Regions from separate parts of the Homo sapiens genome. Here all the other regions are linked to region 1. Evidence: promoter capture Hi-C in human tissues and cell types (Jung and others, 2019). All regions are on one chromosome and are shown on one strand. Each heading gives the region's core, a stretch centred on a gene start or on the middle of the fragment in contact. The rest is flanking DNA. Distances are from core to core; before and after follow the strand shown. Region 1 holds the start of NRN1 (neuritin 1). Region 2 overlaps LY86-AS1 (LY86 antisense RNA 1). Region 3 holds the start of LOC101927950 (a long non-coding RNA gene). Region 4 overlaps FARS2 (phenylalanyl-tRNA synthetase 2, mitochondrial). Region 5 overlaps FARS2 (phenylalanyl-tRNA synthetase 2, mitochondrial).

The links. The method cuts DNA at HindIII sites, captures the fragments that hold promoters and counts their contacts. A contact is called where the count stands out against the background at its distance.
Region 2: a fragment that was not itself captured here is called in contact with the fragment with the promoter of NRN1 in region 1 in 1 of the 25 tissues and cell types used here (bladder).
Region 3: a fragment that was not itself captured here is called in contact with the fragment with the promoter of NRN1 in region 1 in 1 of the 25 tissues and cell types used here (spleen).
Region 4: a contact is called between a fragment that was not itself captured here and the fragment with the promoter of NRN1 in region 1, in 1 of the 25 tissues and cell types used here (mesenchymal stem cells).
Region 5: a fragment that was not itself captured here is called in contact with the fragment with the promoter of NRN1 in region 1 in 1 of the 25 tissues and cell types used here (thymus).

Annotation. Positions count from the first base shown.
Region 1 is chr6:6,005,604-6,008,303 of GRCh38, forward strand. NRN1 (neuritin 1) reads right to left here and starts at 1,322. Exons shown (of 3, transcript NM_016588.3): 1 at 1,092-1,322. The coding sequence starts at 1,146. The HindIII fragment of the contact is 19,231 bases long and covers 1-2,700 here.
Region 2 is chr6:6,401,962-6,404,661 of GRCh38, forward strand. All of the region lies in intron 4 of LY86-AS1 (LY86 antisense RNA 1), which reads right to left. Among named protein-coding and RNA genes, the nearest start is that of F13A1, 83 kb to the left of the region's middle. The HindIII fragment of the contact is 3,779 bases long and covers 1-2,700 here.
Region 3 is chr6:5,692,946-5,695,645 of GRCh38, forward strand. All of the region lies in intron 6 of FARS2 (phenylalanyl-tRNA synthetase 2, mitochondrial), which reads left to right. LOC101927950 (a long non-coding RNA gene) reads right to left here and starts at 2,327. Exons shown (of 4, transcript NR_110842.1): 1 at 2,200-2,327; 2 at 1,937-2,063. The HindIII fragment of the contact is 5,103 bases long and covers 1-2,700 here.
Region 4 is chr6:5,591,988-5,594,687 of GRCh38, forward strand. The region is part of intron 5 of FARS2 (phenylalanyl-tRNA synthetase 2, mitochondrial); the gene reads left to right. Among named protein-coding and RNA genes, the nearest start is that of FARS2-AS1, 140 kb to the left of the region's middle. The HindIII fragment of the contact is 9,548 bases long and covers 1-2,700 here.
Region 5 is chr6:5,736,194-5,738,893 of GRCh38, forward strand. All of the region lies in intron 6 of FARS2 (phenylalanyl-tRNA synthetase 2, mitochondrial), which reads left to right. Among named protein-coding and RNA genes, the nearest start is that of NRN1, 270 kb to the right of the region's middle. RefSeq lists an enhancer at 1,325-1,826. The HindIII fragment of the contact is 3,779 bases long and covers 1-2,700 here.

The DNA of each region.
Region 1 (2,700 bases), core at 72-2,571:
CTAAAGCACCCCCTCCCCCAATACTGCAAGGATTTGTCTGCAAAGAATGCCACAGCCTGAACTGATAGGAGGTAACAATTCCGTTTCAGGAGTTTCTTTTTTCCCCCGTGTTGTCCATTCTATTAATAACCTGCTTCACTTTCACTTTTAGGCCACGTTAATTAATGTTCTGACCCAGTGTCGGAGAAGGGGGTTTTCTAGTGCCCTCTTCTATATCTTTTCTTCATTCTGGATGGTAAAAATGTGAACTTTAAAAAGACCCCTGACAGCGTAACTACAACTCAACATTCCTTAACATAAAATGGGGACTAAATAATTCCTTCCATAACCAATCCCAAACAAACAAAAATAACAAACACCCGACATGACATATTCCAAACACTTCTTAACCCTTTCCTATATATAAAATGCAGACACCAATGTGTAAAGTAGCAGGCAAATGCATCTAGAAAAGTATATCTACGTAAATTTGGCTGAATTCATCCTCTTCAATGGTAAGCATGTTAAAATATGTGGTCTGAAGTTCCCTATCACTCTCGATTTGCCCACCAGCCGGGTCTGCGGTGCCCGTGCAAACGCTGCAGCTAGGATATAGGGGGGAGGAGGGGCGGGAGAATGACAAAGTTCTAAATGCAGCAGTCTGAGCCCTGGAATATCTTTGCTTTCAGCACATAAACTTTCCAGTCCTGGCTGCCTAGCCATTTTATTCCTGCATTCACATTTCGACTCTTCAAAATCATATCTTGCAGTATCGCAGGGGCCAGTACATTGCCCCAGAGCGCACCAAACCTGGTATAAACCCAGAAAGGGAAACAAAAATGGATGTGTGCTCAGGAAAAAGGGGGAAAAAAACCGTGTCCAGAAAATGTCCGGCCGCACACATTTCCTGGCGAACATTTGGAATCTATAGCTTTAGGAAAAACCGATCTGGGACGCGCTAGTCCCCAGGAACTGATGCCCCCACCCTCGGGGGATTGCCGGCTTCTCCGCACCCTGGGGCGGCCGCGGACCCGCTAGTCCCCCTCCGCGCCTCGGGCCGGGGCAGGCTGCCTCCCGCCTCCAGCCTCCAGCCGGGCTGAGCGGCCACTTACCTATTTGCACCGCGAGGATCAGTGAAATATATCTGCCGTTCAACTTAAGTCCCATCCTACGTTTAGTCAAACCATTTGCGACCGCAGACCTTTAAATAGTTAGTTTAGAGAACGCGGGGGAAAGCCAAAAAATAGGCATTGCCAACAAGTTCCGGGAGCGACAGAGACTTTATGCACTGGGAAGGCAGAGGGAGGAGAGAAAGAGAGGGAGCGAGGAAGAGACAGAAAGAGAGAGAGAGAGAGAAAGAGAGAGAGAGAGAGAGGCTGAGGGGGGGGGGAGAGCTGGGAATGGTTCACTCCATTAGAAGGGGGCGGAGGAAGTACAGCCTCACGCCCACGAGCAGGCCTGACGTGGGGGATGACACGGAATGATTTTTTTTTTAATATAGACACCTTGGTAGAGAATCGCCATTTATAGTCATCAGAAGCTGGAATTAATCAGATATCTCCAATTAATGTGCGATCTGAACGAAATTTTGCCTCCCGGGGGTGAGCACTTTCCTATTCTAGCGGTCACCCCTGCCTCTTCCTCGTTCCGGGGGCCCCCCAGCCCCGCCGCCTCCCTGCGCAGAACAGGGGCTCCCCCTCCCTTCCCCGCCAGGAGCTGGGGAGTCCTGGCGCGCCCACTCGATTGTTTCAACCTGCTCCCCCTCCTCCATCAGCACCACAGAGAATCCAGCCCGCTCTCTACGATGCAGGGGGGTTTAAAGGAGCGGGAGAGGGAAAAACAGCTAAGCTAGCTCGATTAATTCGAAAGCGCTCCTCGGCCGCCCGCCCCCTGCGCTTGCCTACCCTCTTTTTCTCCAACCCAGCAGCTGAGCTCTGGGCGCAGCCTGGAGCGCGTGAGCACGCAGCCCGGCCCCCCGCACGAGCACACACACACACACACACACACACACACACAAACGCGCGCGCGCACGCCCGCCAGCCGCGCCGAGCGCCCCCATGCCCGCCCGCACACAAGGCACGCGAGCGCGCGCACACGCCCAGGCCCCGGGGGTTTGGTTTGCACACGTGGGGCCCCAGAAATAAACACCGAATGTCCTCTGAATTTTACCCACCTGCGATGCCCCAGCGGGCCAAAGGCCGCTTCAAGGGACACAGCGACACCTGTTTTAGGGGGCGAGTAGGGCACCGGGGAAGGAGCCTCTGATAAGACAGTTTTCGGATACTAGTGATTTACCAACCAACTCTCAGCGCTTTAGGAAATTTCCAAGGCAAGCGCTGGTGTGCGGACTTCTTTCTAATCTTGATGCGCCTCTTGGGCTTATTTGTTGGGCTACACACACACGTACCCACACGCACACACGTACATCACGTACGCACACGCACACCCGGACCCACACACACCTGCACTGTCTTTTGATGCTCAGGCACAGACCCTGTGTAGGTGTAGCCTACCCTGCAACAAAATACTTCTGCAGCTGGCTTTGTGCTAGGTGCAAGCTGCTATCGACGACAGCTTGAGTCAAAACCGAAAAACTAACAGGGCTATTTCCTTTCTAAACGCCTTTAAGCTCTGGTTTTCTTCCTTTCTTCTGCACCAAACAGAAAAAAAAAAAGTCTAAATTGTAGCGTCTTTAATAAAATGCTAAAGAAGGCATTGGCC
Region 2 (2,700 bases), core at 128-2,627, 400 kb after region 1:
TCGGCTCTCATACCAATATACACACAGGCAAAGAAACGAATGGTCATGTTGATGGGCATAATCAACCTTGATTATCATTAGGATCTATGGTTGCTGCTGGCTAAAGGTGGCACAGAAGAGTATATCAAGGACTCAGGGATGGCTTTTTGTGCTTCTGTGTCCAGTAATAACCATGAAAGAGCAGTCAGCAATCATGGCATGACTAGGGCACAGTAACCAGTAACTCAGAAGCTTCAGTATCAATGTCTGGGCCACCGATTGCACAAGAAACCCAAGCAGAAGTGTTGAATGAGCGTGAGGAGCATCTAGAGTGGACAGTAAAAGAGGGAGGTAAATGTCTATTATGTCCTTGGGATCAACTGAAGCAGCAGGGACTGTAGCTGGTCCTATTAATCCTCCTACTGAACTTTGCTTTGTTGTGTTTTAAAGAAATTATGGCTGGATTTCACTGTGAAGAATCAGTTATCAGACAGAGTGAACTTAAGATGGGACAGAATTTGACCACAGCAGTGCAAGTATTGAGGCTTCACCCATATTTTCTTGATATCCACTGTTCCCTTACAGGCAGATGGCTTTTAGCTGTAAGCATCTGTGACCCTCTTGCAGAGGGAATTCTCTAATCACGAGGAATTCTTGGTCTATGTGCACGACAGGCCTGAAGTGCCAGAAAGTTCATTCCCTCACAAGACGATCTCAATATGTCAGTCAAGAGTGGGTGGATAAATAACCAATCCGCCCCCACTCGAGTAGGACAATTCTGAAGCAGATTATATGTAGTGTCCCAGAAGCAAGCCCTCCAGTGGGATGGAGCTCCAGCTGCCCACATGGTAACAGCTCATTAATGAAGCCCGCAACGGCCTCCTTCCCTTCCTTGTCTCACTTCCTCAGCCCAACTGATTTCTTCTATAATAAGTCCTAATAACTCCTCAAAGGTTAAGTGTCTTCAGCAAGCCACAGCAAGGTTGTTTCCTTGGTAATGAAAGAAAAAAGAAAGCATTATAATAAATCTGAAAATATTATTCCCAAAGGAAGGTCTGTAATAAGGAAATTACATGGCATGGTATAATGTATGTTTTTAAAACAAAATAATGACTTCTTTGTAGAAAATTGATCAAAAGGAGACCAACTGTAAGTTATTACAGCATCTCAGACAAGAAATGGTGGTGGCTTGGCCTAGAGTCTTAGAAGTGAAGATGTATTACTTCTTAATTCCAACAGTGCGTCTGGGTTTTACACAAACCTTTTTGTAAACAAAAACCTGCAATTTAATCTGGTAAGGCTGTCTTGTTACAAGCTTGGACTAAAGCAATCAGTGAGAAAAAAAATTGCCTATCCAGGGATGGATTCAATGTTGACTCTTTAGAACCAGGTCCAACTAGTTTAGTGAACATTTTATAAAACAGCAACAAAAATATAAAATTATATAAAGCCCATGTGTTACCAAAACTGTAGATACCCTGGTCTTTGAAGTGTCATTGTCATCACTACTATGATGGAAAAAGTATAACATAATGATTAGTTAAGAGTCAAAGAAGGGAACCCTAGCTGCCTGGATTCAAATCTATGATCTGTCCATTAATAGAGAGATGACTTAACTTTCTGAAGCTTACTCAGTTCCCTCAACTATAGAGTGGAAATAATCATAGTATTTATCATAGCTTTATTTGTAAAGATTAAGTGAGATAATACAAAAATGAATAAACAAACATCATTAGGTATCCTGCAGACATTAAGCACAGAAGACTATTATTAACAACTTTCTGTCAAGAGAATTGATAATTTAGATGAAATAGACAAATTTCTAAAAAATACATCTTTTTAAAACTGATTTAAGAAGAAATAAGAGGAATAAACTGTAATATAACCATCAATGAACTTGAATTAGTAATCCAAACTCTCTCCACGATGATAATCCAAGGATATTTAACTTCCTTCACTAGATGATCTCACAAAATATTCAAGGAAAAAATGCTGATAGTTTTATCAAACTCTTTAAATAAGAAAAAGAGGGACACGTTCCTCAGTTCACCTTATGATTCTAGCAACACCTTGATGCCGAAATTCAATAAGGATAGTAAAACAAGAGGAAGAAAATAACAGACTGATCTTATCTATAAACATAAATGCAAAACGAATGAATAAGACATCGGCAAATGTAATCTAGCAATTTTCAAAAGGAAGAAATGACCAAATTGAATTCACCCGAGGAATGTAGGGTTGTTTCAACATTAAAGAAAAAAATATGTTGCTGTGATTAGCCACACTCACAGATCAAAGGAAAAAAGTCCACATAAACAACGTTAATAGATGCAGAAAAAAATGTTTGCTACATTTCAACATCCATTCATCATGAAGTGCCATCATAAAGTAGAATAAGATGAAACTTTCTTAATTTGCTGAGGGGAATCTACAAAAAAAACAACATCAAATATATTTTCTTTTACTTCATTTGGGTTTATTTTGCTGTTCTTTTTCTAGTTTCCTGGAAAGATGCTTAGTTCATTACTTTTGTGACTTTCTTTTATCTTACATATTCACCTTGAGGATATAAGTTTTTCTCTAATCCTGCCCTTAACTGTGTCCTATGAGTTCGAATATGTGGTATTTTTCTTAGCATTTTGTTTAATATATTTTCAAGCATCCATTATCCCTTCTTTGACTCATTGGTTATATAGAAATACATTTATGTATTTTAAAACA
Region 3 (2,700 bases), core at 35-2,534, 310 kb before region 1:
CCCACCAGAAATGAGGATCCTTATAGATTCAGGTTAGTCAATACCATATTTCCCTTCCCCATCCCGTTGTTTTGTGTTAGACTTTGTATTAGAGAATTTGTATTTCATCTGTTTTGCAAAACAAATATTAACAATAAGTTATTATTGTACTCTTCTGGCATAGTAACATCCTGTTAGTTTACTTTACACATAGCAAATCCAGCCTGACATTCATCTTTAATGATCTCAGGATAAATGGTTTTAAGGTTAAACAGCCACAGAGACAACTGTCACACGTTGTCAGCTGGAACAGATGAAAGAGAAAAATGTGGCATCTGAAAAGCAACTTGCAAAATGATCTAAATATTTTACTTTATTTTCAGAAAACCCTCACCAGATCTGCCCCCTCACCACTAATCCTGGAGCAGCCTGATGACTTATGGGGAATCCATTGCTTAGCTTTGATGTAGGGAGGGAGAGATGAACGACTGCCTCCCAAAGCGTGGCTGCTGAGCAGGATATTAATGGGCAAGGCGGCTAATGCGTTTGCATTGTTCTGCAGAAGTTTTGCACTGCTTTGGGGAATCATTTATCCTTAGCAGTTGCAAGGTGGCCTGTTTTCAAGTAAACCTAGAGTAAAAATCTGGTTATCTATTGCCATGTAACAAACTGCCTCAAAACTTTGTGACATAAAGCACTGATTTTATTGTGCTCACGTGTCCTTGTCTCCATTCTGTGATGCTGGGGCCTTGTCTGGGAAGACTCGAAGACTGGGAGTGACTGCTTGGCTAGGCTGGGATGAGGCATCTTTACTTACACATCTGGCACTGGACGCTGGCTGGCTGCTGGGACTTGCTGGGGTGATGGCTGGAGAACATTTCACCTCTCCAAGCGGCCTGGCCTTCCTTACTGCAGTGTCTTCTGAATTGTTAGCTTCCTTATATGGTAGCAAGTGTGCAAGTCAGCAGGTGGAAGCTCCGCTATCTTTGTCACCTAGCCTCAGAAGTCACATAGCATCATTTCCACCGCCCTCTACTAGCGGGAGCAGTCATAAAAGCCCACCCATTTTCAAGGCAAGAGGTCATAGCCTGCGCCTCTCAAAGGGAGGATTGTCAAAGCCGCACTGGAAGATCATGTAAGTTGGATGATAGCATTGCTGCTGTATTTGAGAGATTGTGCTGTGCTCTATGTAGAGGTTTCTGTAGGAAATAAACAAGTTGAGTTCTCTGGTGAAAACACATCTGAAAACATGTTAATAGGAATATAGCTAATCCTTAGCATTTCTTATAGTAGCTAAGGTCAGTGTATGCTAGGCCTGGTACCTGAGCAGCAGTCTTGATGCTAAGTTAACAACAGGTAGCCAACAGGAGTGTTTTCTAGCTATTTGGAAATTGAAATTCAACCAAAAAAGCTACTGCCACTCTGAATCAGTTACATCATGATACCTTAGATCTAGGCTACCTTTTTTCCTGAATAATAGAAGGTTACATTGATTAGAAATTATGGGGAAAGTAGATTCCTTCATATAAGAATTGGTTAAAGTTTGACTCTGTTCTCTGTTAAAGTAAGCAGCTTTTTAAATAATTGAGTTCTTTGGAGGAGTTTTTATATTTTATATATTTTTTACCTATTTAGCCATGATAAATAGAATCAGATAAGAGACCGAGTGTGAATATTCAGCACGACCTTCAACCAGGTGTATATATTTCTCTCTATGTTCTAAAGGACTCAGCAATGTGTAGTGCCTATGAGTTCTCATTTGAAAAAGGAGGAATCCTATATGGAATGCCATGTAACGGCCAGGTGCAGTGGCTCATACCTATAATCCCAGCCCTTTGGAGGCCTAGGCAGGAGGATTGCTTCAGGCCGGGAGTTTGAGATCAGCCTGGCAACATAGTGAGAACCCCCCACACCTCTACAAAAAAAAAAAAAATTAGCCAAACTTGCTGGCACGCACCTGTAGTCCTGGCCATTGGGGAGGCTAAGGTGTGAGGATCGTTTGAGCCCTGGAAGAGTTCGAGGCCGCAGTGAGCTATGCTCACACTATTGCACTACAGCCTGGGTGATAGAGCAAGACCCCATCTCTAAAAGAAAAAAACAGATATATATAAATGCCATGTAAGCTTTTACACTTGTATTTCTTGTCTCAATTCTGGTTTTTTCTTGAGCAATTTCTTCTTTTCATTCTCATGAAAGTTAAGGTGATGACGCTGTGCTTACCCACAAACTGTGTATCCACGTAGCCTTCACTGCCATTTGTCCTGAGCCTTTTCAAGAAGCATAAATCCCAGAATGATCGAAACATCTCTTAGATCCCAGAGTGACTTAAGATCCATGCTAGGAATTAATCCTGCTTCCTAGGAAGTTACACAACAGCAGCATTTGTGGCAGTGCCACAGCAAGCCAGGGACTGGCCCACGGGCGGTACGCTGTCATTCCCAGTGCTTTCTCTGCCTTCCAGAGAAACAGGAATTTGCCACATGTCTGTGACTCATTTGCTGGAGCTGTTAAGTGGTGATGGTGTTTAAAATCTCAGGGAAGTAAAGCCACCATTTACTGAACACTTCCTGTGTGCCGTGCACTCAGTTGTAACCACATTATTTTACTTGGTCTTGACGAGAAGCCTTTAAAGGCACTTTTATTATCCCAATTTTACAGATGAGGAAATTGAAGTTCTGGGAGGATGAGTAACTTGTAGAAGGTCACACCATATATAAGTAA
Region 4 (2,700 bases), core at 141-2,640, 410 kb before region 1:
AAAGGAAGACTGTCTAAGATGGGTCGATTGATGCCAAAGTGTTTGCAGACAATACATTTTGTAGATGCTCATATTTTTATATGGCTGCTCTAGCCTTTTAAAATATGCCATATTTGGCTGAGCGCGGTGGCTCACGCCTGTAATCCCAGCACTTTGGGAGGCCAAGGTGGGAAGACTGCTTGAGCTCAGGAGTTTGAGACCAGCCTGGGCAACATGGGAAAACTCCATCTCTACAAAAAAATACAAAAATTAGCCACACATAGTGGTATATGCTTTTAGTCCCAGCTACTTGGGAGGCTGAGGTCAGGGAATCACTTGAGCCCAGGAGGTTGAGGCTACAGTGAGCCGTGATCACGCCACTATACTCCAGCCTGTGTGACAGAGCGAGACCTTGTCTCCAAAAAAAAAAAACAGAAAAGAAAAACAAAACAACAACAACAAAAAACAAACCTGCCATATTTACTTTGACTGGTTCAAATCTTTAAGAGACACAGCCTCTACTATCACTTGTAATATTTTAAATCCCTTGAAAACAGTGGTGTGATCTTACAGTAGAAAATTCACCAACCTGCCAACCCTGAAATAGACTGAGCCTCTACCCCAGACTCTTTCTTTGTTTATTGGATTTATCTAGTGCCTTTGCTTTAGAGCTGAGAGGACATATGCTAGGCACCTGGAGAGATCCCGTATTTCAAAACAACCGATAGCCAGTAAGAATGGGGAAGGCAGCAGACGCCGTCTCTGATGTTGATATACCCTGCTTTGTCTCCCCTCGCTTTCCCTTAGCAAAGAAATGTTTCATATTCGCAGCACAGTCAGTACTCCTTGCCTGCCACGAGGCCCAGAGCGAGAAAAGCCCAGAAAGGAGGACCTAGCAGGTACCCAGGCCTCTTGAAGTCACAGCTGGTGGCATGAGGGACCAACCATCCATCACACTGGGCCACACAGCGCCTGGTCACAACCTGCTTGCAGCCCAGCCTCTTAAGGCGATCGGCGCTTCTTCTCTCTCTGCCTCATCTCACAAATCTTCCCTCTGGCCCTCACCCTCCTCCCATCTCTGCTTTCTGCCTTATCTCCTTGTCACAGTACTAGAAAGGGTGAGCCGACCAAAGCCGTCCTGAGCAATGCCGTGCTTCTGGTTCATTAGCAGCACACAGAACAAGTGAGGAGGGGTGGACAGAACAGACAGGATCCTGCCGACCGTGAGTGAGTAACAGGCGTATCCATGCAAGGTTTTCCAGCTCACGCAAAGCCGTGTCTCTTGGAAGGTTACCCCTATGGCTCCTCCATGAAGGAACTGCACCTCCCGCCCCCACCGGCCTCTGCTGGTGCCTTTCCAAACACAGAGGTGCACGGCCGTACCCAGTAAACAGTTATCTTCACAGTGCAGGGGCAAAGTGATACCTGTAAGAGAAGGTGCAGCAAGAGAACATGTTGCAGAGAAACACCTCCAACTGAAATGATGAGCCAGTGGGTGTCTTTTTATGCCCATCGTCTTCCACCTCCCTCTCCACAAAAATAAATAAATTAAAGAAATTCAGCACCTGTGGACAACTCTGCCAAAAGGAAGTTACCTCCTGTGTGGTTTGTCACATTCAGGTTCTTCACACTTTCCGTGGGAACAAAGGCTGTCTCCATATTACCTGTCAAGTAAGGACAATGGTGAGGCTCCGCAAACCACTTTGAATCCTTGGGTTATTTGGGGAGGAAGTTATTGAAAAAAATAGCCCATAGGAAAATGTTTCATTCGATTTTATTCAGGCTCAGGCGAATTTTTTATGGCATTTCGGGGCAGTGGAGAAGCCATGGGGACAGGAAGATGGTCGGAGAGTCCTGTGCCAGTCAGAATGTAGGGCTGTATTTTCTGGCTCATTGCTATTGTTCAAACACAATTAATGATGGCCCCACAGGGTAGCAGGTGGCTGAACACACAGCAGCTAAATCCCTGGCTAAGGGTCTGTGGAAGGAGTGTTTCCACGTGGCAGGCATGGGGACAGGCACCTCCAGTCCTGTTCCATACTCCTTCACCCTTCCTGACATTGATTCCCAGGTCCCTCACCTAGTTGGGAGTTCTCTTCTGACATCGCTGAGTATTTTTTGGGTGGAAGGGAAAGAAACTTGAGGGCATGTAGGCCTAGGATCTTTTCTTTGCAGGGATGGGGACCCTTCAGTGTAGGGCATAGTACTTGGAGAGTGTTTTCTTGTTGAGTATCACAAGAGGAGAGGGAGCTGGTACCTTTGAAGTTCCCCTCGATGAGCAGAGGATTCGTGCCTGAAGCACCTTTGTCATTCCCTGAGCAACTTATCAACACCCTTGTTCCTTCAGTTCTTTGTTTAAATTTATGTTGTGAATTGGTTTTTCTGTGTTTTCTTTCTGTACTTTATTAGAATCTGGTGCGATAACAGGGATAAAGACCACAGACTTCTTGATAAATTTGTTTCTCCCTTCCTTCTTTGCCGCATCAGTGAGGTCGAGGCAGGAGACAGAAACCATGCCATTTGTTTGGTTTTTAATACAGAGAATTTAAACTAAAGAAATGTTAGCCTTTGAGGGAGGTAATTAAGAAGTCAAGAGGAGAACGTGGAGGTTATCATGGAGGTAGATGGCAGAAAGCAGCTCCCCACCCTGGGGCTGAGGGAACAATCGAAGAGGCTGGAATTAATGAAACTTAAAACCTCAGTGGAGGGTCCTTCAGAGCT
Region 5 (2,700 bases), core at 96-2,595, 270 kb before region 1:
CCACCTGGGCTCCTCCACAGGGCAAGCATTGCAGCTGGATTCCCCAGGGAGTGACCCAAGAGCAGGGAGAGGCCACATGTCTTGAGTAGCCTGGCTTTGGAAGTGACACACCATCACTTCTGCCATATTCTCTTGAACACACAGACTGACCCTGGTCCATTGTGGGAGGGGCCACACAAGACAGGAACACCAGGAGGTGGGGATCTCTAGGGGGCATCTCTGGAGATTGCCACCACAGGTGGCACATTCTTGTCTCTGGAGAGCTGAGAGAATTCTCCTCCTCCTCCTCACAACTGTTGCCTCTAAAAAGACCAGCGCAAATAGGGCAAGCAGCCCTTCAGAATAAGGTTATGTCCACATTGATTCTAAGACATGTCACCTGATTATTTTTTGGATTGTATTCAAGTGCAAAAGCTCAACTGATAGTAGTTTAAAAACAAGCTAGAAACTATTTTTCCAGCTTAACCTTAAGGGATTTTTTTTTTTAAAAAATTGCATGTACCCCTTGCTATTTATCCTAGAAATGGCTGCAGAGCTTTAAATATAGACCAGCATGAATTCAACTCTTGCATAAATTTAAACCACATAGGTGCTAGAATACCCCTTTTTTAATCCAGAAGGGAGAGTTATCTAAGAGTGATGGGTAAGTACATGGCAAACCAATTTACTGCCTCAGCTGCTGTAATGTGGAATAACTTGCATCCCATCTCACTCATCTCTCTTCTGTCTCCACCATGCCCATTAGCACGTGAGTTTGCTCCCTTCCTCTCGCCCTCCACACTAAGGCAGATTATTTTGGATGAAAACATTCATTTAAATTTACTCTACTTTCCCTTCACCCTATGAATTAATGTAAGGAAATGAAATCAGACTTCACAGGTACCATACATTAGCAACACAGATGACCCTGCGTGAAGGGAGATCACACAGTTACTTCCATCAGAAGTAAAACTGAGCCTCGAAAACTTCACAGAAATACACTCAGAGCCACTCAAAAGGGATCCTGAAAGGCAATGGGGGAAACAAGAAATAGAATAGGCTTCAGAAATAAGATCCTGGCCGGGCGCAATGGCTCACGCCTATAATCCCAGAGCTTCGGGAGGCCAAGGTGGGTGGATCACGAGGTCAGGAGTTTGAGACCAGCCTGGCCAACATAGTGAAACCCCGTCTCCACTAAAAATACAAAAATTAACTGTACGTGGTGGCATGTGCCTGTAGTCCCAGCTACTCAAGAGGCTAAGGCAGAAGAATTGCTTGAACCCAGGAGGCGGAAGTTGCAGTGAGCCAAGATTGTGCCACTGCAGTCCAGCCTGGGCGACAGAGCAAGACCCTGTCTGAAAAAGAAAGAAGATCCTATGGGAAGGGAAGTGAGCCCCCTCCCTGCTTTCTGGAATAGTGTGAGTGGCAGATGGCATTGGTCAGCTGACCTAGCCTGCATGCATAACTTCCCCATCCCAGCCTAGAGGTGGTCATGTGACCCAGTTTTGGCCAATGAGAATAAGCAGAAATTTCTGGATGAGGTTCCCTGAGGGCTTTTTGTCTGGCATGCCCCTTTGGCCTTTTACCATGTACCCTTCTTCCGTCTATCTGTGCATTGCTGATAGGAGGACTGGAGAGGGAGCAGCCATCTTGCAACCCATGAAGACCGTGGCTTGCTTCCTAAGGATGGTGGGACAGAAAGAAGAGCCCAGATTCCCCATGGCACTATTAGCAGTTGCTTTGTTCTGCATACCTTCAGAATTCGTTGTTATTATTCTTGTTGTTGTTGTTGTTTAGAGACCACATCTTGCTCTGTCACCCACGCTGGAGTGCAGTGGTGCAATCATGGCTCACTGTGATCTTGAATTCTTAGGCTCACGCAATCCTCCCACTTCAGCCTTCTGAGTACTTGGGACTACAGATGCACACCACCACGCCCAGCTAATTTTTTAATTTTTTTGTAGAGACAGGGTCTCACTATGTTGCCCAAGCTGGTCTCAAACTCCAGGCTCAAGCAATCCTCCTGCCTTGGCCTCCCAAAGTGTTGGGATTACAGGCATAAGCACCACACCCAGCTACTTCTAGAATTTTTTAAATGTGTCCTTTTTCTTTTGTTGAATGCAGCTGCCCTCATCAGAAGTGACACAGTATGCCAGAGCTCTGAAGAGATTGAATATGTTGCTGTACTGCAAACAGTCAGAGGAAACAGAACCCTAAAAGATGTATGAATAGAACAGGTTCTTTCAGTGTACATTACTACGATCCAAAGTGAGGTCAATGAGTAAGAGATTCAGAATATGTCCAAAGATGAATGACAGAGAGCATCATCATTTCTTAGAAGTAAAACAGCAAGAACAGAGTTTTTCCTGTTTACTGGGTACAAAGCTATCTACATAATTATAAGGGATGTTTTTATTGCCAGAAACATCTAACTTTTATAAAAGCTTAAAGTAGTTTTTTTAATCATTATTTCTGTAAAATGTTTTTATTAAAGGAAACACCATATGGTAACAGCAAGAAGAGTTGGTTACGAGTCACGAAGCTAGTCAGATTTCTTTCCAACAGTTAAAATAAAAAAACTTAACACAGACCATACATTTAGAAAAAAAAAATGCAGTTTCAAGACTCCTGAAAGCATAAAACTTTAACCAAAGAGTTGCGTGTGTATCGTTGTCGGTTTTTTTCATTTTCTAGAACGTAAGACAAAATCTTGGAACGCTT